Linked DNA regions of Homo sapiens: regions 1, 2 and 4 are each linked to region 3. The links are contacts of gene promoters, found by promoter capture Hi-C in blood cells and fetal thymus (Javierre and others, 2016). All regions are on one chromosome and are shown on one strand. The core of a region is centred on a gene start or on the middle of the fragment in contact, and the rest is flanking DNA. Distances in the headings are between cores, read along the strand shown.

Region 1 (7,192 bases), core at 3,576-6,075, 85 kb after region 3:
TCAACATCATTAAGGCACGGGTTTCAGCAACACAAGCATTGCTCAGAGGACCCAAGGCAGAGCGAATTTTTTCCTCTGCAAATCTCTGTAGCTCTTGGGGACCTTTACACTCCAACATATTATGAGGTGAAAATCCTGTGGACATTTGGGCTGTACAGAGAAATGATCAGTATTTGGTATTCACAGTACAGATGTGTGTGTGGAGTGGGGCAGAGGAGGGAAGGCAAGAATCTAATCCAGTGTGCACATTATGTCTAGTTTATCACCAGGATTGCCTTGTTGTGATAACAGGGAGCCTGGCTCTCCCTGCTGGGGGAACATCAGTTGAACCAGCAGACTTTCCTCCCTCTGTGCTTAGCTGACATTTTAACCCTAGATCGCTAGAGAAATGGCAGCATTTATTAGAAACCAGATATTCAGATATTTTTATGCCCTACACAAAAAATCTTTGCCCCAATTTACTAAATTACTTTGTTTCTATATGAATAACATGTTTGTTATTATATAACATATATTATGTTATATCATAGACATATAACACATTCATATGTTATATAATATATATAGCATAGCCATATAATAACATGTATCTTAAGCCATCTAGTATAGGGGTCTCAAACTGTTAGCCCACAGGCCATGTTCTGCCTGCAGGAAGTTAGATTTGGCCTGCACAGTGCTTTCAAAAAGAAAAAACTGAGCCAACATCTAGAAATCAAGAGATGATACATTTTTGAAAATGGGGATATCAGAAATGTTTGTTTTAAACCAGAAGATCGCACAAGACTTCCCAGGAAGAAACTGAACTCCAGAATTGCTATTGCCTGTATGTTTGGGGGAATGACAGTGAGAAGGGGAGGAAAGTTCTCCAGGAACCAAGGCCCCAGCATGCCCTGTGACTCTCCTCCTGAGGCTGAGCAGCATTGGGCATTTATCACAGCACTGGAGCTGTAGATTTTTATGATGTGGAAATGTTTCCCCATGTCTCTGCCATAGATAGAAAGAAAAGTGGAAAAGATCACATTCCCTTTTTTATATGACTAAAAGCTCAGTGAAAGGATAAATGAAAGAGGCCATAGACAGAAGACAGCAAAGAAACTTCCAAAACCTTTGCACTGAGTGAATGGAAAAAATATCCCTGAGACTGAAACCACAAAGTGGCCTTCCTTTGGGTTTACAGAACAAATTCATATTTTCATTGAGAATTAATTTTAGAATGAACTCAGGCTAATGGAGGGCCCAAGCACCTTGCAGAAGAAATCGCTAATCCTCTCTGGGAATGAACTTTCACCTGGACCTGCCTTCTCAAACACACAGGGAATATTTACAAAAATTAATGTATTCTCAGCTATAGATAAAAGTCAACAAGTGTCAGAGAGCTGGCATTACACAGATTATATTCTATGACTACCAAGCAATTAAATGAGAAATTAATAACAGAATTAAAATATCCTGGAGATCAGGAGAAAGGTGGTGAATAGGAGACAGAGCTAACATGTACCTCCCACTTAGATGGACAGAACAGTGTGTGGAGACTCACACTGTAAACTTTTGCTCCAGGAACCATAGCAGGAATGTACCAGGAAAACTGAAAGAATTCACAGATCCTTTGAAAGAAGCAGTACATCACTGCAAATTCTGTAAGACAAGCAAAAAACTGTGAGTTCCTAAAGTGTGAAAGGGAAAATACCTGCCTCCAAATACATATCCCCACTGGTGAATCTGAAAATCCAGATCCTGGGAGAAGGATTTAACTTTACCTAGAGCTGAAACAGATTTAGGGAGCCACACAAAATAAAAAAGTAGAAGCAGCAGTGGGAAGAGCCCTGTAGGCACTTGTAGTCTCCAGCTCAAACCCAGGGAAGTCATCTCTGACTATATCTCACAATCGGCCTTGGGGAAGGCAGCCAGCAGAACTAGGGAGGGGTCACAGGGTGAAAGTAGCTTCCAATTGAAATTTGTAATAATTTCAACTGGGCACAAATTTTCTTGAACAGAATCTGGGGGGCAAACTGGGGGGCAAAACTGCTGTAGATATGAGCACAGGAGCCAACAACAATATTGTGGACAGACAGGGAAAGCTGTGCTTGCTTTCTCAGTGGGAAAGCTTACAGCCTGGGACAAGGTCTGAGCAGGGCATTAGAGGAGTAAGACCAGACTCACCAACTGCATGACAGCTGGGTGAGGCCTTTCACTACTGGCTATCCCCTACTTCCCTGGCAAACTATATGACACAGAAGAGGCAGCCATAATCCCCTCTGCAACACAACACCATTGGCCTGAGAACCACCCCCTATCCCACACAGCAGCCATGGCAATCCCCACCCAAGGACAGTCTAAGCCCAGACCCATGTAACCCTGCCCCAACCTGATATTTTTTCTCTACCAACCCTGGTAGCCGAACACAAAAGATAGAAACTCTTGGGAACTTTATGGCCCCACCCATCACCTGAGAAACCAGAATACTTACCCTGGCCAACTTAGGGCAAGCTTACATCTCCCTACTACTACCACAGCTGGTGTTGTCTTGAAAGTGCCACCGCCTGGCTGGAGGCAAACCAACTCAGGCCATTCCAGCAACACATGACATAATAACCCTGCTCACGGGAAGGAGAAAACAACAGCTAATTCCACCACTTGCAACATTCTGGCTAACTAGAGGTCCTGAGTCTGTCCATGTGACAATGTCACTACTAGCATAACCAGCATTTAAGAAAGTCAGCACACTAAACATATCTACAACCAAGGACTCTCACAGAGTCTAATTCACTCCCTTGACACATCCACCAGAGCAGGTGTTGGTATCCATGGCTGGGAGATATGAAGATGGATCACATCACAGGACTCTTTGCAGACATTCCCCAGCACCAGCCTGGAGCCTTGTAGCCCCACTGGGTGGCTAGATTCAGAAGAACAATGACAATTACTGCAGTCTGGCTCTCAGGAAGCTCCTTCCCTAATGGAAGTGGGAGTGCACTACATCAAGGGATCATCCCATAGCACAAAAGAATCTGAACAGCAGGCCTTGGGTTCCATATCTTTCCACTGAAATAGTCTACCTAAATGAGACAGAACCAGAAAACTAATTCCGATAATATAACAAAACGAGGTTTTATAACACTCACAAAAGATCACACTAGCTCCCTGGCAATGGATCTAAACCCAAAAGAAATCTCTGAATTGCCAGATAAGGAATTCAGAAGGTTGATTATCAAGTTACTCAAGGAGGCAGCAGAGAAAGTTGAAAACCAACTTAAAGAAATTTTAAAATCAAGATAGGGATGAAAAATTCTCCAGAGAAATAGATATCATAAAGAAAAACAATCAAACCTTCTGGAAACGAAAGACACACTTAGAGAAATACAAAATGCGCTGGAAAGTTTCAATAGATTAGAACAAGTAGAAGAAAGAAATTCAGAGTTTGAAGAAAAGGCTTTCAAATTATCCCAATCAGAGAAAGACAGAGAAAAAAGAATAAAAAAACAATAAATAACATCTCCAATAAATTTTGAATTGTGTTAAATGGCCAAACTGAATAATAATTGGCGTTCCTGAGGAAGAAGAGAAATCTAAAAGTTTGGAAGACTTAGTTGAGGAAATAATCAAGGAAAACTTCCCTGGTCTTGTGAGAGATCTAGACATCCAAATACGGGAAGCTCAAAGAACACTTGGGAAATTCATCACAAAAAGATCATCACCTAGGCACATAGTCATCAGGTTATCTAAAGTCAAGACAAAGGAAAGAATCTTAAGGGCCATGAGACAAAAGCATTGGGCAACCTATAAAGGAAAACCTATCAATCAGATTAACAGCAGATTTCTCAGCTGAAGCCTTACAAGCCAGAAAGGATCAAGGCCCTATCTTTAGCCTATCGAAACAAAATAATTGTCAACCAAGAATATTGAATTATCCAGCAAAACTAGGCTTCATTAATGAAGGAAAGGTAAAGTATTTTCAGACAAACAAATGCTGAGGGAATTCACCACCACCAAGCCAGCATTACAAGAAATGCTAAAAGGAGTTCTTGAAACAAAACTTCAAAATACCACAAAATAGGACCTCCTTAAAGCATAAATCTTACAGGGCTCATAAAAGAATAACACAGTGGGAAAAAAAGTATTTGGGCAACAACTAGCATGATGAATAGAACAGTACCTCACATCTCAATAATAATGTTGAATGTAAATGGTCTAAATGCTCCACTTAAAAGATACCGAATGGCAGAATGAATAAAAATTCACCAACCAAGTACCTGCTGCCTTTAAGAGACTCACCTGACACATAAGGACTTACATAAAGGTAAAGGGGTGGAAAAAGGTATTCCATGCAAATGGAAACCAAAAACGAGCAGGAGTGGCACTTTTTATATCAGACAAAACAGACTTTAAAGCAACAATAGTTAAAAAAAAAAAAAGACAAAGAGAAACATTATATAATGATAAAAGGATTAGTCCAACAGGAAAATATCACAATTCTAAATATATATGCACCTAACACTGCAGCTCCCAAATTTATGAAACAATTACTATTAGACATAAAAAATGAGATAGACAGCAATGCAATAATAGTGGGGGATTTCAATACTCCACTGACAGCACTAGACAGGTCATCAAGACAGAAAATCAACAAAGAAACAATGGATTTAATCTATACCCTATAATAAATGGGCTTAACAGTTCTGCCTGTTTCCAGATGAGCGAGGAGACTCATAGTCTTGTTCTTGGACTTCCCCAGCAGCATGGCCCCCAAACGCCAGTCTCCACTCCTGCCTCAAAAGAAGAAACCAAGACCACCTCCTGCTCTGGGACTGGAGGTTCTTGGACTTCCCTAGCAGCATGGCCTCCAAATGCCAGTCTCCACTCCTCCCTCAAAAGAAGAAACCAAGACCACTTCCTGCTCTGGGACCGGAGAAGACATCAGCCTCTGCAGGCTTGCCGAAGAAGGGAGAAAAAGAACAGCAAGAAACAATTGAACACATTCATGAAGTACAAAATGAAATGGACAGACTTAATGAACAAGCCAGTGAGGAGATTTGAAAGTAGAACAGAAATATAACAAACTCTGCCAACCATTTTTTTCAGAAGAGGTCAGAATTGATCTCCAAAATCCCAGATTTTTGGGTAACAATATTTGTCAATCATCCAGAAGTGTCTGCACTGCCTGGGGAGGAGGACGAAGAGGCACTGCATTATTTGACCAGAGTTGAAATGACAGACTTTGATGATATTAAATCAGGTTACAGAATAGATTTTTATTTTGATGAAAATCCTTACTTTGAAAATAACATTCTCGCCAAAGAATTTCATCTGAATGAGAGTGGTGATCCATCTTCAAAGTCCACCGAAATCAAATGGAAATATGGAAAGGATTTGATGAAACGTTCAAGTCAAACGCAGAATAAAGCTCACAGGAAGAGGCAGCATGAGGAACCAGAGAGCTTCTTTACCTGGTTTACTGACCATTCTGATGTTGGTGCTGATGAGTTAGGAGAGGTCATCAAAGATATTTGGCCAAATCCATTACAGTACTACTTGGTTCCTGATATGGATAATGAAGAAGGAGAAGGAGAAGAAGATGACGATGATGATGAAGAGGAGGAAGGATTAGAAGATATTGATGAAGAAGGGGATGAGGATGAAGGTGAAGAAGATGAAGATGAAGGGGAGAAAGGAGAGGAGGATGAAGGAGAAAATGACTAATAGAACACTGATGGATTCCAACCTTCCTTTTTTTAAAATTTTCTCCAGTCCCTGGGAGCAAGTTGCAGTCTTTTTTCCCCCCCTCTTGTGCTCATTCACCCTGTTCTTGAGGTCTCTGTTCTCTAAACCATGGCTCTCAACTTATTTTGGGGGAAATAACTTGAGCATAATACAATGGGAAAAGAGTCTCTACCCCTTTCTGTTCGAAATTCATTGTTATCCCTTCCTGTCTGAACAAAAACTGTATGGACTCGACACCACTGTGCTCTGTGGGAAAAAAAGAAAAACCTGTTCCCTTCGCACTGCTGGAAGCTGGAAGGTGCTAGGCCCTGTGTAGTAGTGCATAGAATTCTAGCTTTTTTCCTCTTTTCTCTGTATATTGGGCTCAAGAGAGTACACTGTGTCTCTATGTGAATATGGACAGTTGGCATTTACCAACATGTATCTGTCTGCTTTCTTTTGTTTAAAAAAAAAAGAATAAAAAACTTTAAAAAATGGGGTTATAGAAGGTCGGCAAAGGGTGGGTTTGAGATGTTTGGGTGGTTAAGTGGGCATTTTGACAACATGGCTTCTCCTTTGGCATGTTTAATTGTGATACTTGACAGACATCCTTGCAGTTTAAGATGATACTTTTAAAATAAATTCTCTCCTAATGATAACTTGAGCCCTGCCACTCAATGGGAGAATCAGAAGAACCTGTAGGATCTTATTTGGAATTGACATTCTCTATTGTAATTTTGTTCCTGTTCATTTTTAAATTTTCTTTTTATTTCACTGGAAAGGATAGATGATGCTCAGTTTTAAACGTTAAAAGTGTACAAATTGTTTTGTTACAATATTAAATGTGTACACAAAGGATTTGATGCTTTCCTCTCAGCCTAGGTATGCTTACTATAACCTTCCAAGTTTGACTTGTATAACATCACTGTCAAACTTTGTCACCCTAACTTCGTATTTTTTGATAAGCACTTTGCAGGATGACCTCAGGGCTATGTGGATTGAGTAATGGGATTTGAATCAATGTATTAATATCTCCATAGCTGAAAAATGTGGGTACAATTTGCCATTGGTTTCTGAAAGTATTCATATCATTTGGAATACCAGATTGCTCAATACTTTCTGAGTATATTGCGCCCTTGATTTTTATCTCCAAGTGGCAGTTTTTAAAATTAGCCTTTTACCAGGATATAAAATAATAGTGCCTGCCACCACTATCCAACATACCTGGTGCTCTAATGCCAAGTTATACATGAGACAGTTGCTGGCATGTCTTCATTGGCTATATAAAATGTGGCCAAGAATATAGGTTCTCAGAGTAAGAAGTCTGTGATGGTTAGCAGTAACTGTCCCTGCTCTCTGGTATAAAGCTCTCAAGTGTCATTATGTGAATCTGGGTGGGATAATGGACCCAGCTCTGTCTGCTCAATGCCATTGTGCAAAGAGGCACACCCTAATGCATAAGCTTTTTAATGCTGTAAAATATAGTAGCTGAAAT
Region 2 (7,767 bases), core at 3,861-6,360, 120 kb after region 3:
TTAAAGGTGTGAGCCACCGCGCCCGGCCATACAGAGGTATTTTTCAATATGCATAGCTAAATGGTTGCTATGAAATAGTCTGTAGCCACGCTGAGCTAAGTAACCTGGTGCCAAGCAAGGCTAGGCTTAATTAGAACTTAGATGGAATGCTACTGTTAAATGATTCATGCTATGGAATTATGTTAACAAATGTGAAAATTTCCGGATGTTTCAGTTAAACTGTCATGGAAGTATTTTTCCTCTCACAGCAAATCCTAACTTCTGTGAGCCAAAACACTGGGAGCTTTTTTCAAATGCACAACTTGAGAATACTAAAAGTTAATAATTCTCTGAGAAACTTACTTCTGTACAAGCTTATTCCAGTTCTCTTTGACAAAATCCCATGCCAGTAAGTGTCCAGGAAAATGTCGACCCACTGTTCTAATGATAAAAGACAGCTTCTGTGTTCGGAAGTTATCTCCATTCAGGCTACTTTTCATTAACCTGAAGAGCAAAGCAGATTTAGCCTCCAAAATTATTATTCATGAAGAAGTGATGACTGAACTTAAATTAAAATTAGTATGGTTTCCTAATTAAAGCTGTGTAGCAAATTGAGAAATAACTGTTGCATTAGTCTACGGTTGATCTATAGATTGAAAATGTCATTTTTTTTAAATGAAGAAAGAACTCACCAATAAAATAGGCATTTACCTATATTGTCACATGACAATAAATAGTTTTTAAATAGTAAAAACATTTAGGAAATAAGTTCTGGTAGAATTTATTACAATTCGGGAGGTGGGTATTTTTTTCTGGTAAAAACCTTATTTGATTTGAATGGGCAGGTTAATTATATTACTATTCTTAAAAAAAACTAGGTCATTTGAATTATTTGAAAATTAGGATACATTTCAGAATATACTCTTATTAATGTTCGTAGCAAACATTTACTGACACTATGTACTAAATAATGTTCTAAGTCCTTGACACAACAATGCTATAAAGTAGGTATTTATTAATACTACCTAACTCAATTTTATAGTTGAAGAAACTGAGGTTATCTAATTGACCCACAGTCACACAGTAATAAATACCAAAGCCCGACATCTGAACAAAAGCAGTTCTCATCTACTATGCTATACTATCTGTTTATAGTGAGAAACCACGCCCCACTCCAAGACTGTGGCAGTATTTTTAGGAGAGAAAAAAACAAAAGCCCAACAAAACGTGATGGATTAAATAAATTATGATAGGGCCATACTACAGAATATTATGAACCCATAAAACACTTTAGTTTTTTTTTATATATAAAGCAGGCTTCATGAAGTGACATGGAAAATCTCATAGACTGATCATTCACTAAAAAGATGGTCACAAAACACTGGGTATGGTATAAACCTAATATGGTTTTTAAAATGCAGTTAAATATGTAGGTATGTGTGTATGTATGTACGTACATATGTACAAATATCCATTCCCACAGATGAATACAAAGACCAGGACTGACACTGTTGTTAACAGAGAAAACGAGAATGGAAGTGAAGGATCATGAGAAATACTTTCATATTTTACTCTATATTCTTAGGTACTGTTTAAATTCTTTATCATGGGCATTCTTAGTGTATTACTAGCATAGTTTAAAAACAGTGATTTTTCTCTATTTGCTTAAGTCAGAGGCTGGCTAATACTTTAAAGAAAATGACTATTTACAGCGTATCTTTTGGTAAGTGGGTCTGGACAGGTACTGAGGACATCTCTGGGACACTATTAAGATTTATCTGAGCAAAATCATACAACAGAAGTAATGAGACCCAGAAGCCTCCTTCTATCCTCAGTGCGACTTCTAACACCTGTGCTCTCTACAGCAGATACCTCTATATTCCTCTTGGCTATGTAGAGCTCCTCTACCCCACCACTGCCTGTTCTTCCTGTCAGGAGGCCCTACTTACTGCCCTACCTTCATCCATATGACACTCCTACTTCTGGGCCTTCATCACTACATATTAAAAAGGAAAAGTCTGACAAATAAATTCATATGAACGTAGAACCTAGAAGGTTTAATATGTGATTTTTTTTTTCTGAAATGCCTACATTTTTAAAATGACAGCTTGCACAAAGCAATGCCTTGGTCCTAAACTATGGAGTACCAATTGTGGTGTATAAGACAACATTCCAAGGGGAGGAAGACTTTTTGAGCAAGGAGTAGGAGGGGGCTGTGACTCCTGACATCTTGTAATCCCTTTTGGGCAAAGGATTTTCTGCTTGTCCATAAAGATAAAGCCCAGCACCTGTAGTCTCCTCACCACACTGTCCAACTTAGGCCTGGCCTGTAACAGAAGTGGGGAAAAGAGATCCCCTCAAAAATGAGCTCCTGACCAAGAGCACAGTGTTTGTATTCTTTTGGTTTCTGTATATCATATTCCTCGGTGATTTCATACCAGTAAAGCTTCCGCACATCCTCTGAGCTGGCAAGTGCTTCTAGTATTTTGTTCTTCTCTGCTTCAGAGCCTATAGAAATGTATTTGCCCAAAAGGAATGACCAGCCTTTGTCAGTTTTTGCTCCAACTTTGAACACAGTTGTCATGACATCAGTAGGTAGGCTGTAAGAGAGGTGGTCAAACATGAGAATAACAAGAAAATATTCTGAATACAAAGGCGAAGAGTTGGCTGTGGTGGAGTTTCTGGTGTGAGGGTTGGTAATAATAACAAGTTTGAGTACACAATTTAGGGTTGAGAAAAAGTTTAATTCAGTGACTGCTATCTTCCTAGTAGTGTGTCTATGGATACATCAGTTCAATTTAATATTCACAGAGTACTCACAAAGAACCAGGCAGGCGACTGGCTGGACACTAGGGAGCGGAAAAGGAATGAGAGCCTCTGTCCTCTGAGAACTCACAGGCTACTACGAAGTATAGAGCAATAACTATATGCATTACAATTCAGTGTGATAAGTTTCATGGTAGAACTATAGCAGTAAATGGGGTGCAGGGAGAAAACACAGTCTACTGCCTTTATTAAGATCTCAGAGCTGGGAAAGACCTCAAAACGTTATCCAAATCCTCCACCCCAACTCTTCATCTGATGCTTGAATCTTCTCTCCATAATGCACGGTAAGGAGCTGGAGAGAACTAATTACCCCCAAAAGCTTTTCTGTTAACTGCTAACTCTACCTGCTATGTTTTATTTCTAAATTAAGAGACTTGTTTATCACCTCACACCCATTAGGATGGCTGCTATCAAAAACCCAGAAAATGGCAAGTGTTGGCAAGGATGTAGAGAAATTGGAATGATGGTGCAGCTGCTGTAGAAAACAATATGGCAGTTCCTCAAAAAATTAAAATTAGAATTACCATATGATCCAGCAATACTACTTCCAGGTGTATTTCCAAAAGAATTGAAAGCAGGGTCTCTAGGAGATATTTGCACACCAATGTTCATGGCATTATTATTCACAATAGCTAAAAGGTACAAGCAGCACAAAGGTCTATCCAGGAATGAATGGATAAACAAAATGTGGTATATACATACAATGGAAAATTATTCAGCCTTTAAAAAGAAAGAAATTTTAGCCAGGTATGGTGGCTCATGCCTATAATCCCAGCACTTTGGGAGGCCTAGGTGGGCAGATTTTCTGAGGTCAGGAGTTCAAGACCAGCCTGGCTAACATGGTGAAACCCCGTCTCTACTAAATATACAAAAATTAGCCAGGTGTGGTGGCGGATGCCTGTAATCCCAGCTACTCCGGATACTGGGGCAGGAGAATCAATGGAACCCGAGAAGTGGAGGTTGCAATGAGCTGAGATCGCGCCACTGCACTCCAGCCTGGGTGACAGAGCAAGACTCCATCTCCAAAAAAAAGAAAAGAAAGAAAGAAAGAAATTTTAATGCATGCTACAACATGGAAGAACCTTGAAGACGTTATGGTAAATGAAATGAGCCAGTCACAAAAAAGCAAATTCTATATGACTTTACTTATATGAGATATACAGTGTAGTCAACCTCACAAAAACAGGAAGTAGAATAGTGGTTACCAGGGGCTGGTGGGGAGAGGGAGTGAGGAATTATTCAATGGGTACAGAGTTTCAGTTTTGCAAGATGTAAAAGTTCTGAAAATATAGTACACAATAATGTGAATATGCTTAACACTACTGAACTGTACAGTAAAAAATGGTTAAGACAGTAAATTTTATGTTATGTGTATTTTACCACAATTTTTTAAAAAGTCTTGTTTGACACCGCATGTTCTCACTCATAGGTGGGAATTGAACAATGAGAACACATGGACACAGGAAGGGGAACATCACACTCTGGGGACTGTTGTGGGGTGGGGGGAGGGGGGAGGGATAGCATTAGGAGATATACCTAATGCTAAATGACGAGTTAATGGGTGCAGCACACCAGCATGGCACATGTATACGTATGTAACTAACCTGCACATTGTGCACATGTACCCTAAAACTTAAAGTATAATAAAAAAAAAAAAAGTCTTGTTTGAGAATGCAGATACATAGAGTTCACCTACACTGACACTCAGTTTTATAACATTTATGATCCAGGATGAGAATACCCTGGATACTGTATATGATGTGAAATAAAGAAAAAGAAGATAATTCATCTGAGTAGAGGTATACTTCACCTTTGAGTTCCATTGGATGCCATCCAGTCATCAAACAGTTTCATGGCAGTAGTAGAGCAGTTCCCCAGGTTGTGGGTGCAAGCAAACTCTAGCAGGGCTGACCGAAGCTCTCGCATAGATGGAGTGCCCTCATCAGTCCAAGTTTGTTGTTGAATTTGGTTTTGAAGTAATTTAAATACCCTAGTCTAGAGAGACAAAATAGATTATAATGGCTTCATAATAATTAGGACAATCAGAAAAAAAACAGGACAATTACAGCCAGGTGCAGTGTCTCGTGCCTGTAATCCCAGCACGTTGGGAAGCTGGGGCGGGCAGATCACCTGAGGTCAGGAGTTTGAGACCATCCTGGCCAACACGGTGAAACGACATCTGTAGAAAATACAAAAATTAGGCAGGCATGATGGTCGTGCCTGTAATCCCAGCTACTCAGGAGGCTGAGGCAGGAGAAACACTTGAACCCAGGAGGTGGAGGTTGCAGTGAGCTGAGATAGCATCATTGCATGCCAGTCTGGGCAACAGAGCAAGACTCTGCCTCAAAAAAAAAAAAAAAAAAAAAAAAAACAAAAGACAAAAAACAAAAAAAACCCCAGGACAATTAGATCTCTTTTCCCCAACATTTATCCAATGAGGAAAAAAAAAGGCATAGATATTACTCATTAAATATCAACTGACATATGAAACCCACATACGGCTGGGATGAAACCATTCAATAATAAGGCTATGCATAAGGCTGCTATAGCTAAGGGGGACTTTTAGTGATGTTAACTCAGAAAAAAATTAATGACTTCTGTGCAGTAGGGAACCTTTATGCTGCATATACTCAGCTAGAAGTTATTTTCCTGCCAAAAAGTATCACTTATAACCACTGCTGGAAGGATGTCAGGACTTCCTGACCTTGTGACTTTACAATCTATAAACCTATAAAGCAATGAAAGAAAAATAAACTTCTTTATTGATAGTTAATGTTTAAATGTTTCTCAATCCAATATTAAAGGTATATTTAACATTATTAACTAGTTTGATGTTATAACAAATTAACCAAATTAGCAAGAAAATGAGACCTGCAGGGAAGAATAGTTGTTTATAGCTTATTTTTTCTCCTAAGTTTTTATTTAAAGAACTTTCAAACCTACAAAAAAAGATAGTACAACACCCATACACTGTTCATCTAGATTCAACAGTTTTTTAACACTCTGACACTTGCTTCATTTTCAAGTGTGTATAACACACATACGCACACATGTTTTTCTTGTTTTAGCTGAACAATATAAAAGTGATATACAGATACGATATTTCATTTATAAATACTTTGGCATGCAACTCACAGATATCAGAACATTCTCTTACAGAACCATAATACCTTATCACACTGAAGAAAACTAATAGTTATTCATTAATATCATCCAATCTAGTCCATTGGTATTGGCTGTCATTGCTAAACGTATACTTGCGGTATTAAGGTACTAACAGACGCCTTTTTCATCTCTCTCCAAAATAAAAACACCAAACCTGTTAATACCATGTCGAAGTATTTCCATTCTGCAAGTTGTGCATGGCGGGTGGGGGGTGAGGGCACATGATATTTTAAAAAGCATCATATGCAATATGCTTTTATGAATACCACTAGAAAGAATAAAAATTCTGATATAAAAAATGTTTTTAGGTATTCTTTTTTTTGTTTTTGAGATGGAGTCTTGCTCAGTTGCCCAGGCTGGAATGCAGTGGTGCGATCTCAGCTCACTGCAAGCTCTGCCTCCCAGGTTCACGTCATTCTCCTGCTTCAGCCTCCCGAGTAGCTGGGACTACAAGCGCCCGCCACCACATCCGGCTAATTTTTTTGTATTTTTAGTAGAGACAGGGTTTCACCATGTTAGTCAGGATGGCTCTATCTCCTGACCTCGTGATCCACCTGCCTCGGCCTCCCAAAGTGCTGGGATTACGGGCGTGAGCCACCATACCTGGCCGTTTTTAGGTATTCTTTAGAAAACCTTCATGGCTACATAAGAAGGACCAAAATGAAAAAAATTCAACAGATACCCCCTCTGAAGGAATAAGCACAGGAAGATTTCTTCCTGCTGGTACTTCTTTACCTCCACCACCATCGTGGCATCTCATCTCAAGTAATCATGTACCACAGATGACCACAAGCAAAACCCTTAACTTCAGAAGTTTAGCTCAAGTTCTTCACAGAACATTGCTTTCTTCCTTTCTTTTAGGTATTGACAGTGAGTACCACTGAGTACCACTGTCAATACCTAAAATGAATCCTATTTGGAAATTTTTAAACTATTAAGACCATTATCCTAGCAATGACTTACTGTGAATAAGCATCTTGTGGAGTTGAATATGAGAATAGAAAAAAAGAATCTGCAAGGAAAAGAACTCAAGGTTTGTATAACATGTCAACTCGCTTGTGTTTGTTTCAAAAGCAATGAAACACAGAACAGACACCTTGTGGAATGTGTAAGTGGTAAAGCTTTTGAGTCACTGGGAGGACATGAAGTAGAAAAATACTTGCTACGCTGACGATGCAAGGAACGGACAAGCAATGCAGGGGATCCCACTTGACATACCTAACTGCATTGTTATGTGGTGTCTTCACTGGCCTTACCTTCTCAATAGCATTATGATAGAAAACCATTCCAAATGACTGGAGAACAAAAGAAATTCAAATCCTACTCATAACTGTCAAATAGGAACAAATGAAGAATGTGAGAAAAAAAATCACATGCTTGAAATCTTATTTAAAAAAAAAATCAGTGAAGAACAATGGCAATACTCATTGAGAGTTTACTAAAACACAAAGGCAGCAATGGAAAGAATGGCACTTGAAGTCCTGGAAGCAAAGGAAATCTGACACTTGAAGATGGCTGTGGCTAATTCCTGAGCAGTTACACCACCGAATTACAGGGAGCAATTTTACTAGTTAGTCTCCATATGAAATCATTAAGGCAAGTTCTCAAAATAGTTGTTTAAATGTATTTCAAATTATAACATAATAAAGTAAAACATTTTAAGAAAGAATAATTATATTATTAGAAAAATCCTGTTACAAAATATCATTTTTATAAGTAATCCAGGTTTATTTTTAATATTAATTAATATTAATGAGGCATAGCATGTGCTTCAAATTACCTTTCCCTTTTAGAAAT
Region 3 (7,525 bases), core at 661-3,160:
TATTTTATATCTGGTATAAATCCTTATTATGGAAAAGGAATCCTGTGACTTATATTTATGTCTTCTATGGAAAGATTATTTAACAAAGTGTTACAGGTAGTATAGATCATGAATAGGTAGAAAAAGAATTTCTGTTTTCTTAAGATCTTTAAAGGCCAGGCATGGTGGCTCATGCCTGTAATTCTAGCACTTTGGTAGGCCGAGATGGGTGGATCACTTGAGGCCAGGAGTTTGAGACCACCCTGGGCAACATGGTGAAACCCCCTCTCTACTAAAAATACACAAATTAGCCAGGTGCGGTGGCGTGGGCCTGTGGTCCCAGCTACTAGAAAGCCTAAGGTGGGAGGACCGTTTGAGACTGAGAAGTCAAGGCTGCAGTGAGCCCGGATCATGCCATTGCACTCCAGCCTGCATGACAAAGTGAGACTCTGTCTCAAAAAAAAAAAAAAAAAAGGATACAGCTAGGGACTAAATTAAGCCTTGCATTTGAATTCAGGAGCCACTCTTCTGGAAGCCAAGGCTTGTTACCCCCCACAACCCTCCCAAATTTTAGTCACTTCTATTGGGCAGGGGCAAGTAAAACCTGACAGACTGTCTTACAGCTTGCCTGGGAACATTTGTTTCCCTATTTACCCTTCAAAGTGAATCATTCCCAAGGTTGACTTTAATTAATTCTGATGTAATTCACTTCCTTTCACTTAATAATTATTAAAAATTTCAGGGCAGGGTGCAGTGGCTCACGCCTGTAATCGCAGCACTTTGGGGGCCCAGACAGGATGATTGCTTGAGCCCAGGAGTTTGAGACCAGCCTGGGCAACACAGTGAGACCCCATCTCTACAGAAAATTTAAAAATTAGCCAGGCGTGGTGGCGTGTGCCTCCCAACTACTTGGGGTGCTGAGATGGGAAGATTGCTTGAGTCCAGGGCTCAAGCCCCTCACTTGAGTCAAGGCTGCGGTGAGTTATGATCACGCCACTGCACTCCAGCCTGGAGGACAGTATGAGACCCTATTAAAAAGAAAAATAAAACAAAGAAACAGGACGAGAAAATACATATATGTTTCTTAAGGTAGTTATTGAAAGATTTTTTTAAAAAATTGAGACAGGGTCTTACTTTGTCACCAAGGCTGGAGTGCAGTGGCACAATCTGGGCTCACTGCAGCCTCGACTTTCCAGGCTCAAACCATCCTCCTGCCTTAGCCCTCCAAGTAGCTGGGATCACAGGCATGCACCACCACACCCAGCTAATTTTTGTATTTTTTGTAGAGTTAGGGTTTCGCCATGTTGCCCAGGCTGGTCTGGAACTCTTGGGCTCAAGCGATCTGCCCGCCTCAGCCTCCCAAAGTGCTGGAATTACAGGCATGATAAACTGCACCCAGCCCCATAATCTTTATAGCACTCCTTTACCAAAGAAGAATTACACTGAAAATTTAGATTTATAGGGATTATACTGTTAACATATAGCTGGCAGTCCTGAGCTGGAAGCTGTCTTGTCATTCAGGAAATTTCCTGGAGAAATAACCTTCCTGATTCCATATTCCTGGGGGCAACACAATTGAAGATGGAGGGCCAGAAGAAATACTCAAGTCAGAAAGCTGCACAGCATTCAGACAAAATCTGGTTGGAGAGGAAAGCTGTTTTCATAATTTAGCGAGCTTCCCCAGCTAGCCTGTAGGTGGGTGTGTTTAACAGAAGAAAGCAATGGGAACCCGCCTGTCAGCCAGCCTTTCGAGCTAATTAGCTCAGCATACAACAAAGATAAGTGAGCCTGGGAAGAGGGCCCCCTGAGGGGTCTTTAGATTCTGGGAAATGTCTGATTGGCAGATGTTAAAAGGGATTCCTTGGTAATCCAGTGCATCAATGAGCTGCAGAAATTCAGCCCAGGACTGCAAGAATTCAGGCATGAGGACACTCTGTACAGGAGGCTCACACAGGCAGACCCAAGATGGACAGAACCTTGGAATCTCTGAGACACATCATTGCCCAAGTCTTGCCTCACAGAGATCCGGCTCTAGTCTTCAAAGACTGTAAGTACTGAAGGGGGAAAAGTTTTTTGACTTTTTAGAAAATAGTCCTAAACGTCAAGTCACATCCTATTTAAGTAAGATTTCTCCTAAATCTCTGCAGTCGTATGCTGTGTTCTAAGTGATATTTTAACTTGTTCCTGACTTCAGCCAGAAGAACGATTTCATTTCACCTACAGGCATTAGGCACTGGGTTATTCTGTCAGTGATACATCTTGCTAACTACTTAGAAGTCTCTTCTACAATCCAAGACCTGCCTAAGACTTAATGAACTTTTTCTGATGCTTTTTAAGTAAAGCAAAGCTGACTGGTGTTGAGATTAAACCTAAAAATAATTTGGAAATGATACTAGAATATATCAATATTTGTTAACCTGTTTAATACTCCACAACACATATTAGCTATGTTAATTCAAGTATCGTGTTTGTCTGAAAATATTTGTTGCAAACCAGAATTAACAGTAAATCACCACTGAACTTTTAAATTTTGATAACAGATTATAATGCTTTAGTTAAAAGGCCAATAAAATGAGATGCCTCCTAACCTCAGCAACACTCCCTGTGTGGACCCCCTACCACCATCACCAATTTATACAGCATGGCAAAGTTATTTCAAAATCTTTTTTTTAATGATTTAAAAATAATTCAATCAAGATTTCCAATTCTAGCAATACTATTAAACCATTTGTCATATAACTTCGTTTCTGGAACCAATTTGATTTCCTGCTGCTGCAAAACAGACTATCTTCATGTTGTATCTTATCTACAGTGGGTTTCATATTACAAAGGGCTTCTGAAATAGAACTGCCCAAAAGGTAAAATGCATATGGAATTTTTTTTAACTTCAATAGGTTGCAGCTTTCCTCTTTGTGAATCTAGTTGTGTTTGTCTCCATCAAAACATCAATGGTTTGAATTTTTGCTTTCTGATTGCTGAATAACGTTCCATTCCAGATGTCCTCTTAGCTTAGATTTCTCATATGTATGTTGAAGAAAGAGGAATGTTAGGCCATTTAATTCTATAAATTTTTCCTCTTAGATGTTAAATTGTAACCAATCTGTCCTTTAAGGCATAAAGTGAAAGCCTTTTCTTTCTCTAGCTCTCTTTTTAAATATTGTCTTTAGGCATTTGCCAATAACTATGTTAGATCTAATAAAAATCACTCTCTCCACTACTCTAGCCTGGAGTCTATTCAGGTTTGTTATGTTTTTTAAGCGAAAAGGGGAGGAAAGAATGTCTCTCTCCTACAATAGAACTGATTCACTAGTGAGGGATAAAAGGGCTCTCGGGCTGCCCAAGCTTTGGATAAATTGTATAGGACCAGGGTTCTTATGCTGAGCATTTAAATAGGGGAAGCAGTTAAAAAAAAAATAGGGGGGACGTTTTTCACTGGCCCATTGAAAACTTAATAAGTTCAAATGTGAAACTGTATAGCTCATTTTTTAGCTGAACTAAATTGCTGCGATTGTTTACAGTTTAGAAAAGAAGATAGACTAGAAAAAGGATTACAATAAAGCATACATTAAGTTCTGTCATCCAGGACTTTGCAGGACTTCTTTTATATGGGAGAACAAATAAGTGTCCTGTTTTATATATTTCATTCATTAACATAGAACCTATATTTGACCAGAGAGCATTGCCTGTTTACCCTAGAATGGACTGCTACTCGGCAACTGCTTGCATGGCTTAATAGACGTGAATATTAAACTGCCGATTCTCTCCCTTCTTTTCTAATCTGAAAAATGACTAAATGACAGTAAGCCAAATGGCACATTTCTGTACCAGGAGTTTTCCTAACTTTAAAACATCCAACCACTTACCAATCTCGTGGAATAAGTGGGAATGGGCTGCTTACTTTCTGGGACAGGACATTAAAAGTCTGTCTGGAGCCTATGCCATTGCCCTGGCAAGCTGTAGGTGCTGCACACGCCAGAGTTTGGCATATGGTCCCATTTTCTTTGGCATACCCATAAGTTGCTGCCACCACACTCCTATTGGCAGCCTGTAAAAAGCTGCCACCAGCCTTGAATGGCAGGTTCTGAGCAGTCCCCTCTCCTCCTAGTCACTGCTGGCTCCTCCTCCACTCTAACCTGCTCCAAGCTCTTTCTGCCAGAAGGAAAGAGCTGAGCACTTGAGCACATCACTGCCAATTCCTTAAGAAAAATTGCTACCTTACTTTCCTACAAGATGAAAGCTGATCCAAGAATTTTTAAAACCCAGCCCAGTTGAACAAAAGAATAAACACACACAAACACACAAACACACACACATGCACACACAAAACACTTTTAAATTTTTTCTTAATTTATCTTCCATGAATGCAAACACAGTTTTTCTCTCTTCACTCTTTGGTTATACATAATCCAGGGAGTGTAAATGATCATGCAATTCATTTATTGCCCTCAGTTGGCTTTTGATTTGCTTAAAAACAAGCAATAGTAACTGAATTTTCTCTTCAAGTTGGTTAGAAAAAGCACCCAGAGAGTTTTCTGGTCTGAAACAGATGCACATGGGAATAGTTACATTCATTTAAAGAAATAAAATTCAAATGCTTTCTCAGATGAGGAAGCTCTTCAAATGGTATTTTGCAATACATTAAACCTGTCATTTTATTTTATACAAGGCGTTCATCTGGCAATAGTTGTGATTTGTTTCTTTTTTTATTTTCTCTTCTAGAAGGAAATAAATTCCATAACACTTTTTTCCTTTTCCCTATTTCACATTTCATATGAAAAATAATGGAAAGAGGTTTTAAATAAGATGGACTCCCAATTTGAAATTTGTTCATCTAAGCTGACACTGGACTGTTCTCCCCTGCATAAATGTCTCTATTTTAAAACAAGTAGCACTGGAAGTCTCCACACTACCAGGCAGAATCTCTGCAAAGTATAGCTTGTCTCCATATTGCTTTCCATTCTTGGCTTTGTGCAATATCCAATTTCGTTTCATGTGTCATGCATCACAACCAAAGCTGAGCTATCCTAAAAGCAGCCCCTGTCCACTCTTTTGAAGAAGTGTGTTAACTTACTATTCATTTGCCACTGTTTGACAATTCCTTGCGTACTTTCTCAAAAGAAATCACCACATGACTTCAAGATAGCTATGCTTTCAGATCCTAATCTGAGTGTTAACTCTTCATATTACAAGAGCACAATACATTTATCTGCCATCTTTGAGCTCTTTCTTCAACCATTTAATAGTAAGGCTAAGACATCAAGTCCTCATCATGTGATAGGCACTGTACTAGAAACATTTATTCTTCACAGTAAGCTAGTAATGTAGGTACAATTGTTGTTAGAGGTGAGGAAACTGAGGCACACAGAGGTTAAAATGACGTGCCCAAGGTCACTCAAGGTCACACAGCTAGTATGTGATAGAGCCAGGAATCAAATTCTGTCTTCCAACTCCTTACCTTGAAACACTATGAGACATTGCCTCTCAGAAGTGCTAGTTACCATGTCATTAGTGTTGTAATAGCAGTACAGGTTGAGTATGCCTTATCTGAAATGCTTGGGACCAGAAGTGTTGTAGATTTCAGATTATTTTTGGATTTCAGAATATTTGCATTATATATACTTTAGCACCCCAAATCTGAAAATCTGAAATCTGAAATGCTTCAATGAACATTTCCTTGGAGTCTCATGTCAGCAATTAAATGTTCTGGATTTTGGAACATTCTGGATTTTAGGTTTTTGGATTTGGGATGCTCGACTTATATCTGTTAGGAAAACAGAGGGGAGAAAAAGGAACTCTACCAGGAGCATAGAGGGAGCCCATTAAATAATCACATTTGAACAGAAGTGTGACAAGAAAGTGGTGAGGGGCAGATAATTTTTGATGAGATAGAACAGCTTGTCCAAAGACAAACTGGGCAATACAAGAACCATGTGCTGGGGGAGGCAGAGACAGACTGAGGAGGCAGGTTGGGTCATGCTGACATGCCGGCAATAGGGAGCCATTGGAGTTAACAGTAAATTAGTTCTGGAAGTTTATGGCCTTATGTTGCGTTGCGGAAAAGTTTATATTGACATTGGTTAGAGGTACACATCCGAATACCTAAGTTAGGGAACACTGCAGCTTTTTCTTAGCAAGAAACCATTTGCCAACTCAGACAAGATGCAAGATTTGTAAATGTCAAACATGCCTATGAGGAGAAACCACTTTCACTGACTGAAGGCCAAAATCAGGGCAAACTTTCTCAAAAAGATTGTTTAAAAAGTATCTTAATTGTCACTGTAGCCATGAGAATGAGTTGGTTTCTAGCATTGACTTATGAAGTGACATGTAAGATTTCACTGAGATTTTTTCCCAAATTTTATAATGAAAAAGTAAGATGGATCCTTTACTAAGCGTTGAAAAATTGGAAGCAAATTTCTCACATATTTGAGGTGCATTAACTCTTCCATTTGGGAGAACATTTTTCTGCATGAAAGGTTTTATTTATATCAGATAGGTGAATACTTTACTTCAAAGAGTACGTTTTTTGCCCTTTGGAAAAACTGGACCAGACTACAGGGCTATTAAAAACATCTTAGTAATCATGAATCTAGCTATATGCAGCATGAGAGAGCAAGAATCCTCAGGAGTCAAGTACTTTATCCACCCCATGCTTTTTAGTACAGTTATGTGAAATCAATAAATTTATAGTTTTCACATTTCACAGAAAGGAATGGAGTAGGATGTAAAGGCTGAAGATTCTTGTGCAGTAAAATCCCTATACATATTGCATTGCATTCCACCACCCCTGAAAAAATACAGTTTAAAACCACAAAAAAAAGCCAAACAAAAATAAACCCTATAGTGCTTGCTAGCTTATTTTAAAATAATGAGTGCATCTTAATTACAGTAATTTGAACTCTGCTAATTTTAGCATCTAAACTATGGATGTCTGTTTGACTGAAGCCTATTCAAATGCTAATTTTACTTTATTTATCATAGGGCCTAATTATTTTTATTTGAATTTATACTAAGGAAGAAATATAAATTTTAGTACAGCTATCAATGGCATAAGAGCTGGTTCTTTTTTTTTTTCAGTAAATATACATTTGACAGAGTTTAAAGTTAAATGTATAAAAGTCTCAACCCTAGAAGACAGGTTTTCAAACTGGAAAAAATAGGTAGCTTCTTGATCACTTTATGGCTTTATCTGTCCTAGTACATTTATTTCTCATAGAAAAGTAAGATTTAACAGATCAAAATAAATATGATAGACACCTATCCTGTGAGATCAAATCTGGGACCTCTTCATTGACTGCTCTCCCATCTCACCAGAGGTCTTTGGTGGTGGTTGCTGTTGTTTTTAACAGTTAAGATTTGTTAGTCTGAACTCAATTTTAACAACTTCTGAAACTCATGTGTTAAGTTACAGCCCATAATAGGATACAGATGCATAAGGGTGAGTTTCTAAGTTATGATCTTCTGTTTAAATGACACGGTTTTACTGATTATGTGCTACAGATTGATTTAAGAAATGTAAGACAACTTTAGAAGCCTTTCATAAAAG
Region 4 (7,223 bases), core at 681-3,180, 100 kb after region 3:
GTCAAGTCTCGGGTACCCACCGAGCTCAGGGCCTGATGCATAGTGGACAGATCACAATATTTGTTGAATAAATCATCCATAAAAATATTTTAAAAGTATGCCTTGGCTTTCCTCTTCCACCAGTTCAATTTATGGCTACTTTCTCTCACCCCAAGTCCAGATGGGGTCAGATATAAGCCAATTTTCTATTAGTGTGGAAAAACACAGCTAGGAAGAAAAATCTGTTGCCAATCTAGACAGGCAGATAAAGATTTCTAAGAACATTTGTTTGAAATAAATAGTTGATAAACTGCTTGTTTGTGGGAAGGGGTAAGACTCCAGGGAGCATGTCCAAATAGCAAAAGGCCTCCAAACCTTGGGGCCAGCTGCTCACTACAGGCCATTAGTTTTGTGGAGCTTTTGATGTGCTTGGCCAAACATGTCTGGATGTAGATGCTGAGACACTGGGATGTCTAGGGGCAAGAGTGACAGGTCAGCAAGGCCTGGGTGTGTGTGTATGTGTAATTTGGGTGAGGAGCACACAAAAACATCCCCCAGAAATGGCAACGTAAAGGAGAGGCTCTGGAGAACAGAAATACAAGTGAGGATGACACTGTTACAGCATGTGAGAGTAACTTCCCTTGTAGACTCTCCTCTGGGTACTACCTTGGAGAAAACCTATATTGCTCGGCAGTGCTTTGGCTTTAGTGCATTTTGTGGAAAGGAATCTTGAAGAGGTGCTAAGTTCCAAGTCTAGGTTTGCTCAAGGCAAAAAAGAGACTACAGACATGCATGCGGGGCTGAAGAGGACCAACTACATTCAGGTTATGCCTCCTCCATAAAGCAAGTGAAATCAATGGTTTTAAAATTGTTTAATATTGCCTCTTTTCCCATGCCTGTAGACTTCCTTAAGTTCCTGTCCTTCTGGCAACAGAAGGGGGTCTGTTGAAAAATAGGAAAGACGCTGGGCGTGGTGGCTCAGGCCTGTAATCCCAGCACTTTGGGAGGCTGAGGTGGGAGGATCACTTGAGTTCAGGAGTTCAAGACCAGCCTGGGCAGCATAGAGAGACCACTGTCTTTATACAAAATTTTAAAAAGTTAGCCAGGCATGGTAGCACACACCTGTGGTCCCAGCTACTCGGGAGGCTGAGATGGGAGAATAGTTTGAGCCCAGGAGGTCGAGACTGCAGTGAGCCATTATCATGCCATTGCACGCCAGCCTGGGTGGCAGAGTGAGACCCTGTTTTTTTTTTTTTTTTAAAAAAAAGGAAAAGAAAAACAAGAAAAATAGGAAAGGATGTCAGTCTGCTCTCAAAGTCCAGGGTTCTGTGGCTGAGGACTGAAGGCCTTATCTCGGGCTGATTTCAAACTACAGTCATGCATTGCTTGCTGATTTCATCATGGTGCAAACAACACAAATCTTGATGGTTTAGCCTACTACACACCTAGGCTATATGGTATAGCCTATTGCTTCGCTCCTAGGCTACAAACCTGTATAGCATGTGACTGTACTGAATACCATAGGCAACTATAACACAATGGTATTTGTGCATCTAAATACATCTAAACATAGAAAAGGTACAGTAAAAACAGCGTAAAAAAAGATTTTTAAAATGGCGCAGCTGTGTAGAACACTTACCATGCATGGAGTTTGCAGGATTGGAAGTTGCTCTGGGTGAGTCAGTGAGTGAATGTGAAGGCCTAGGACATTACTGTACCCTACTGTAGGCTTTATAAACACTGTACACTTAGGCTACACTAAGCTTATAAAAGAATTTTTCTTTCTTCAATAATAAATTAACCTTACCTTGATGTAAACTTTTTAATCGTTTAAAATGTTTTGATTCATTTGTAATAACACAGTTTAAACACACACTACAGCTGTACAAAATAATTTTCTTTATATCTTATTCTATGTTTTATATTTAAAATTTATTTTTAAACTTTTTTTGTTAAAAACTAAGACAAAACCAAACACATTAGCCTAGGCCTACACGGGGTCAGGATCATCAAGATGTCACAAGGCAATGGGTATTTTTCAGCTCCATTATAGCCTTATGGGACCATCATTGTGGCACATGACTGTACTTCAGGAAAATGGTTCATTTTCACCTTCTACCTGTAGTCGGCGAAGCTTAACGTTTATATTCTTTTCATTCAGCTCATCAACCATTATGGCAGCTGTTACTTTACCAATGCTAACCACCCTCCGTCCTTCCTGAGATTCCCTTTGGTGGTGAGTGTCTGAACCTTCTGACATTAGTATCTTCCACCTGAGAGAGATTACTTCAATGTAATTCACTTCATTTAAACATTAAAAAAAATGCTACTCTTTTGAGATCATGTTATTTGAATCATTCACAGCATCATTAAATGTAAAAGTGAAAACATTAGGATAGTTTAATTTAGCTCTGCACTCAACATTAATGAAACACCTCTTTCAACAGCAAACTCGAATACTCTCTTCTCCAAAGAAGCAGTATCCCGCAGGCAATTGCACATCATTTGTCTCAAAAATGATGCATATAAACTGTGTCTAATCTAAAAACATATACAAATTTAACATATAATGTTATATCATGTGGGATTTTAGCTCAAGCATAACTTCTAATGCCCTTAATCTGTAAAAGGAGGAAATTTAGACTAGGTCATGTGGAAGAAGTTTTCCTTCTAGCACTAATAATCCCAGGTCCTAAAGTATTTGGCCAATTTCTCTCCATCATGCCATCTAATGCATAAGTTGCAAACAATTTTTTTTCTAGCTAGAATAGAGACTTAGGCATGCTTGATTCATTTGCATGCTTAGGCAAATAAACTGAGAGAAGGAAAGGAGTATTTGTGGAGCACCTACGAAGGACCAGGTGTATTTTCCTATATACCTGTTCTTCATGTTATTACTGCAAAGTAGATATGCTTTGCAGATTAGTCAAGAGTCAGGATTTTGTTTTGTGTCTACTTTTAATTAACCAAATTCAGTGACAGCCAGAATTAACTTCAGTTGTAAAACCTATATAACCACATTTTTTCTAATATAATGCCTCTCAAATAAAATCTTTGCATATTTAAGGCTTAAATAAAAAGCATATTAGACTAAAATTATTTTTGTAATTTCCTAACTGGCAAGTTATATACCTTATTCAATTTTAAAAACTCATATCCATCTGTAGCTGAAGATATTAATATCCATACACCTCATTAAGCGCTGAGAGTTTTAACAATGACAGTTGATAATTACTCTGCCTGGGCCCGGCAATATACTAAACAATTTATAGGTTCTTTTATTTAATGCTAACAACCCTGCAAGGTAGGTAGGTAGGCACTATCTCAGTTTTATAAATGGAGGAAACTGAGGCAAACAGGAATTAGTAACAACTCTCTAAGTGGAAAATGATTGAACCAGAAATCAATTCTAGTTCTGACTGATACCAGCCTAATAGCCTTTCAAGTATTTAAATTTCTTGAAATTGTTACCTTTTGTTATGTGATAATAGTAATATTCCAATAATTTTGCTGAAGTTAAAAATTACAGAGGTCTTTGAGGAAAAAAAATGAAGACATAAACAGCCACTAAACCCATAGGGCAGCCCATGTTCAATCCTGCATGTAGGACCCAAAGATCTTTTCAGCTGCATTCACATAGAAGAGCAACAGCATCAGAAACTGCTGAACAAAAGAACTTTCAATTTCCCACATTTGGTTTGTACACAAATGACACTTTAATAAGCAACACACTGACAGCCCTAAATTGTCTTTCCTATGCTGAAGTGGCCTCTGGTATGTTCCCTGACTTCCTTTCAAACTATTACCTCCTGGTGCTGCCTGCTGGTCAACAGTTCAACTCTGATGACTGCTATTTTATTATCACATTAGGTTCTTCTTTTATAAACACAAATGGGAATAGGAAAGCAAGAATCAAACTTATTCTGTGTAAGCCAAGGTCCTGATTATTCAGCTCAGCCAACAACAGAAATTACAGGGGTACCCAAAGTGCATTTCAATTCAACTGGACTTTGGCCAGTTGAATGGAGGTCATCCATGAAGAGAAATGATAAAAGTAAACAAGCACAGAGCATTGGGAACATATCAATTATGGATCTAGTAGGTGGGTGAAATTAACGACTTAAAAGTATGTTTTTGCCCTCTAGCAGAAAACCACCTCTTTAAGCATGTAAGTCAACTGTTCAACTTGCACACAAGTTTTAGTAAACACCAGAGCCTTTGTGTGTGTGTTGGCGGTGGGGGGTCGGGGGGCTTTATGTAAGAACAGAAGAAGCAAAAAGAAGATACAACTGAATCATTCTTCTGTACCATGGGTTCTAAAAATAATTTAGAAAAATAGGTTATTGTTACTCTCCATCCAAAAAGTCTATCAGAATCAAAGTGTTCTTTACATTTATAATGGGTTTTAGTTCAATTGTTTACTGCTGGTATCTGTGAATTAAAAAGCACAAAAAATTTAACCAGAAGCTTCTGATCAAAACTTCACAATTTTAAGAACATTTCCCCTATATATTAGTAATGATCATTATAAGAGATTTTAAAAGGGCATGCATCAAGGTTTTGTGTCCTCAGAAATAGGATTTTGGGTATGGGAGTTAAGACTTACTTTGCCTTCAAACGCCCACCTAACAATTACTGTAAAAGAATACTTATTCTAGTTCATATATCTGGAAGCCTAAGAAATTCTCAGTTCTTCCTCAAGGCTACTCATGCAGACAGAACCAAGAAACTCCTTTTGTAGACCTGACCAGGAATGTAACCGTGGCAGTGTGCCTCTAAAAAGGTGCACTCATACTCCTACTTATATGTGAATCAACGCAAGGGGTATTTCCCTGATAACATCCAATGTCTCACCTTCAAAGTAAGACAGCGTTCCTTGGTTTCACTGGCATACGACACGTATGACATTTCTCACACTGATTTAGGTACTGTATGACTACTGCATCAGTTGGCTACTTAGGTGACCTGAGTGTTTACAAGAACTGCTTTAGTCCAAAAAGTAAATAATGGTCCTGATGGAGCTCCCGTGACTGTTAGCTATCCGCCCTATGCATCCACTCAAAGTTTTAACCCTAACCTCAGGGGACATTTGGCAATGTCTGGAGGAGAGGTTTTAGTTGTCACAGCTGGGGACAAGAGTTACTATTGGCAACTAGTTGCAATTGGCATGGGAGGGATCCTGCTAAATGTCCTATGATACACAGAACAGCCCCCACAACAAAGAATTAGCCACCTCCGAATGTCAAATGTCAACTGAGGTATATGCAATAAAGACACTGGATACTGGTGAAATAAAAAACTAACCACAGAAGACAATGAGTACAGGAGCTGCCCTGGTAGAGGTCATAACCTAAGAAGAGATACCACTTTATATATACATTAATCCAAAGAGTCCACACAATGTTTGTATTTAAATACTTTTATTTTCATTTCACAAAAAAAGCAACAGTGTTTGCAGCTACACATGCCTTTCAGTCAGTGCTGGTCATATGCAAAACAAGTTATCAGAAATATAAAGAAAAATAAGCCTTTTCCCTTTACAAGTGAAACAACACAATTTGCATATACAATATTATATATACATATTTTCAAAATGTTTCACAAAAGACAGATTATGATACAAATTTAGAATTCCACCCACAAGCTCAGACTCAAGGAATTGAAGATCTCTATAGGTGTTTAAATATAAAAATGTAATACCTTTACAAGTTTCCAAGTAACTACTTTCCAAAGTATTTGAAAGAGGCTATTCTTCACAGCAACATGGAACACTTGGCTTTAATCAAGACAGCTGTAAAACTAAGTTTTGTCTCAATGTGAGTTTGTTGATTAATGCAAATGCTCCAATTATGCCATAATTCTCATTTTATATACACATACATACACAGCGTATTATTGTACTGATGGTTTACACAGTCCAATTTCTGGAGCATTTCCTTCAGCTAAGCCATGACCTTTACTTCCTTTGAAGTATTTTAAATTAAGAACTGTTCAGAAATATCACTAATGACTACCATGACTAACTCCAAAAAGGTGCCCTTTTTTCTTTTATTTATGATCAAATGTAAATGTGTCATGAATAAACTTATTTTTTTCTATGGCAGCAGGTATAAGTAATAGCAAAGTATAGGCTACTTTTTCAACACTAGAATCTGAGAGTTTGATATACAGTATGTAACATTTCTTTGCAAATTTTCTAGGAGTTCTATCACTCAATGTTTCCAAAATAGTAATATGGCAAATCTTCAGCATGGAGTAGTAGTATCAGAAATGGGAAAACAAACAATGCTAAGAGGCCTGAAGGAAGGGAGGAGAGCAGAGAGGGAGGGAGGGAGGATGTGTGCCCATGCATTTTCCCTGATGCAGACAAATGTGGAGTTTTAACATTTACCATATGGTAGATGAGGAGACAGTGTGATATAAGAATGCTTAAAGCGAACATACAGGTCTGGATACATGATATGCACACAAAATACAAGGCTAATGAGGCAGCAATGGCTTAAATTTGTGAATGCCAGTGAAGAAAACACCTAACAGTATAGGCACTAAAGACAAAATGGAAAGCACACAATGGAGAACGGAGGAGAAAGATGCAGTCACACAAAAGACCTCTGGGTAAGAAAGGGCCAACTTGTCTTGCCACATGTGGGGGATGAAAGATAGAAAATTCCTTTTGGATTTAGTTTTGGGGCTCATGTTCTATTCATCAGAGCCATGTCAATAACTCGAAAGGGTCATTCCAAGACACAATTTCTACCAGGTACACAAGCTATGCAATTGATGGAATCATAATAGACTTCTATAGATGAATCAGAAGTCCAGGCCTCAAAAAGAAGCTACTCTTAACGGTTTGCAAATGCGTTCTAGACAGCACTCTTATTGGCTTATCAGCTTCGCCGGTTTACCAGTTACTAAAAGATATATGAGCAATGAAGTTTAAACACAGCTTTATTCAATATTGTCCTCTTGCCTTTCTAGAATTTACAAAAGCACAGGTCCCTTTTCACTACCTCATTCAATCTGAATCAACATAAGAAATGCTGGATCTAATTAGCTTTCACAACTCAACCATAGCTGAGTGTCTTCTCCTGTCTTATCTGCTGCACACCTGTTGCTATTAGTTACATTAATACACTGCTACACCTTCCAGCCAGATGGCAGGGATTTAGTAGGTCTTTATTTTTGTTAGGTATAGTCAGACCCCTTGCAAGGGACTAAGTGTTAAAGGAAAATAATGGCGGAAG

What was found. Contacts are between HindIII fragments. The CHiCAGO score rates a contact against its expected background, and 5 or more counts as called.
Region 1: a contact is called between a fragment that was not itself captured here and the fragment with the promoter of LIX1 in region 3, in 1 of 17 cell types (M1 macrophages). The highest score is 5.5, in M1 macrophages.
Region 2: a contact is called between a fragment that was not itself captured here and the fragment with the promoter of LIX1 in region 3, in 5 of 17 cell types (M1 macrophages, M0 macrophages, M2 macrophages and 2 more). The highest score is 10.5, in M1 macrophages.
Region 4: a contact is called between a fragment that was not itself captured here and the fragment with the promoter of LIX1 in region 3, in 2 of 17 cell types (M1 macrophages and M0 macrophages). The highest score is 8.6, in M1 macrophages.

The regions. Positions count from the first base shown.
Region 1 is chr5:97,054,903-97,062,094 of GRCh38, reverse strand. It overlaps the pseudogene SETP22. Among named protein-coding and RNA genes, the nearest start is that of LIX1-AS1, 15 kb to the left of the region's middle. RefSeq lists a silencer at 1-130. The HindIII fragment of the contact is 4,672 bases long and covers 2,490-7,161 here.
Region 2 is chr5:97,019,333-97,027,099 of GRCh38, reverse strand. LNPEP (leucyl and cystinyl aminopeptidase) reads right to left here. Exons shown (of 18, transcript NM_005575.3): 14 at 4,616-4,800; 15 at 2,418-2,579; 16 at 343-483. Among named protein-coding and RNA genes, the nearest start is that of LIX1-AS1, 51 kb to the left of the region's middle. The HindIII fragment of the contact is 3,967 bases long and covers 3,127-7,093 here.
Region 3 is chr5:97,136,996-97,144,520 of GRCh38, reverse strand. LIX1 (limb and CNS expressed 1) reads left to right here and starts at 1,910. Exons shown (of 6, transcript NM_153234.5): 1 at 1,910-2,026. The coding sequence starts at 1,945. RefSeq lists an enhancer at 1,894-1,963. The HindIII fragment of the contact is 8,667 bases long and covers 1-3,323 here.
Region 4 is chr5:97,035,673-97,042,895 of GRCh38, reverse strand. LNPEP (leucyl and cystinyl aminopeptidase) reads right to left here. Exons shown (of 18, transcript NM_005575.3): 18 at 5,383-7,223. Among named protein-coding and RNA genes, the nearest start is that of LIX1-AS1, 34 kb to the left of the region's middle. RefSeq lists a silencer at 1,505-1,705. The HindIII fragment of the contact is 371 bases long and covers 1,745-2,115 here.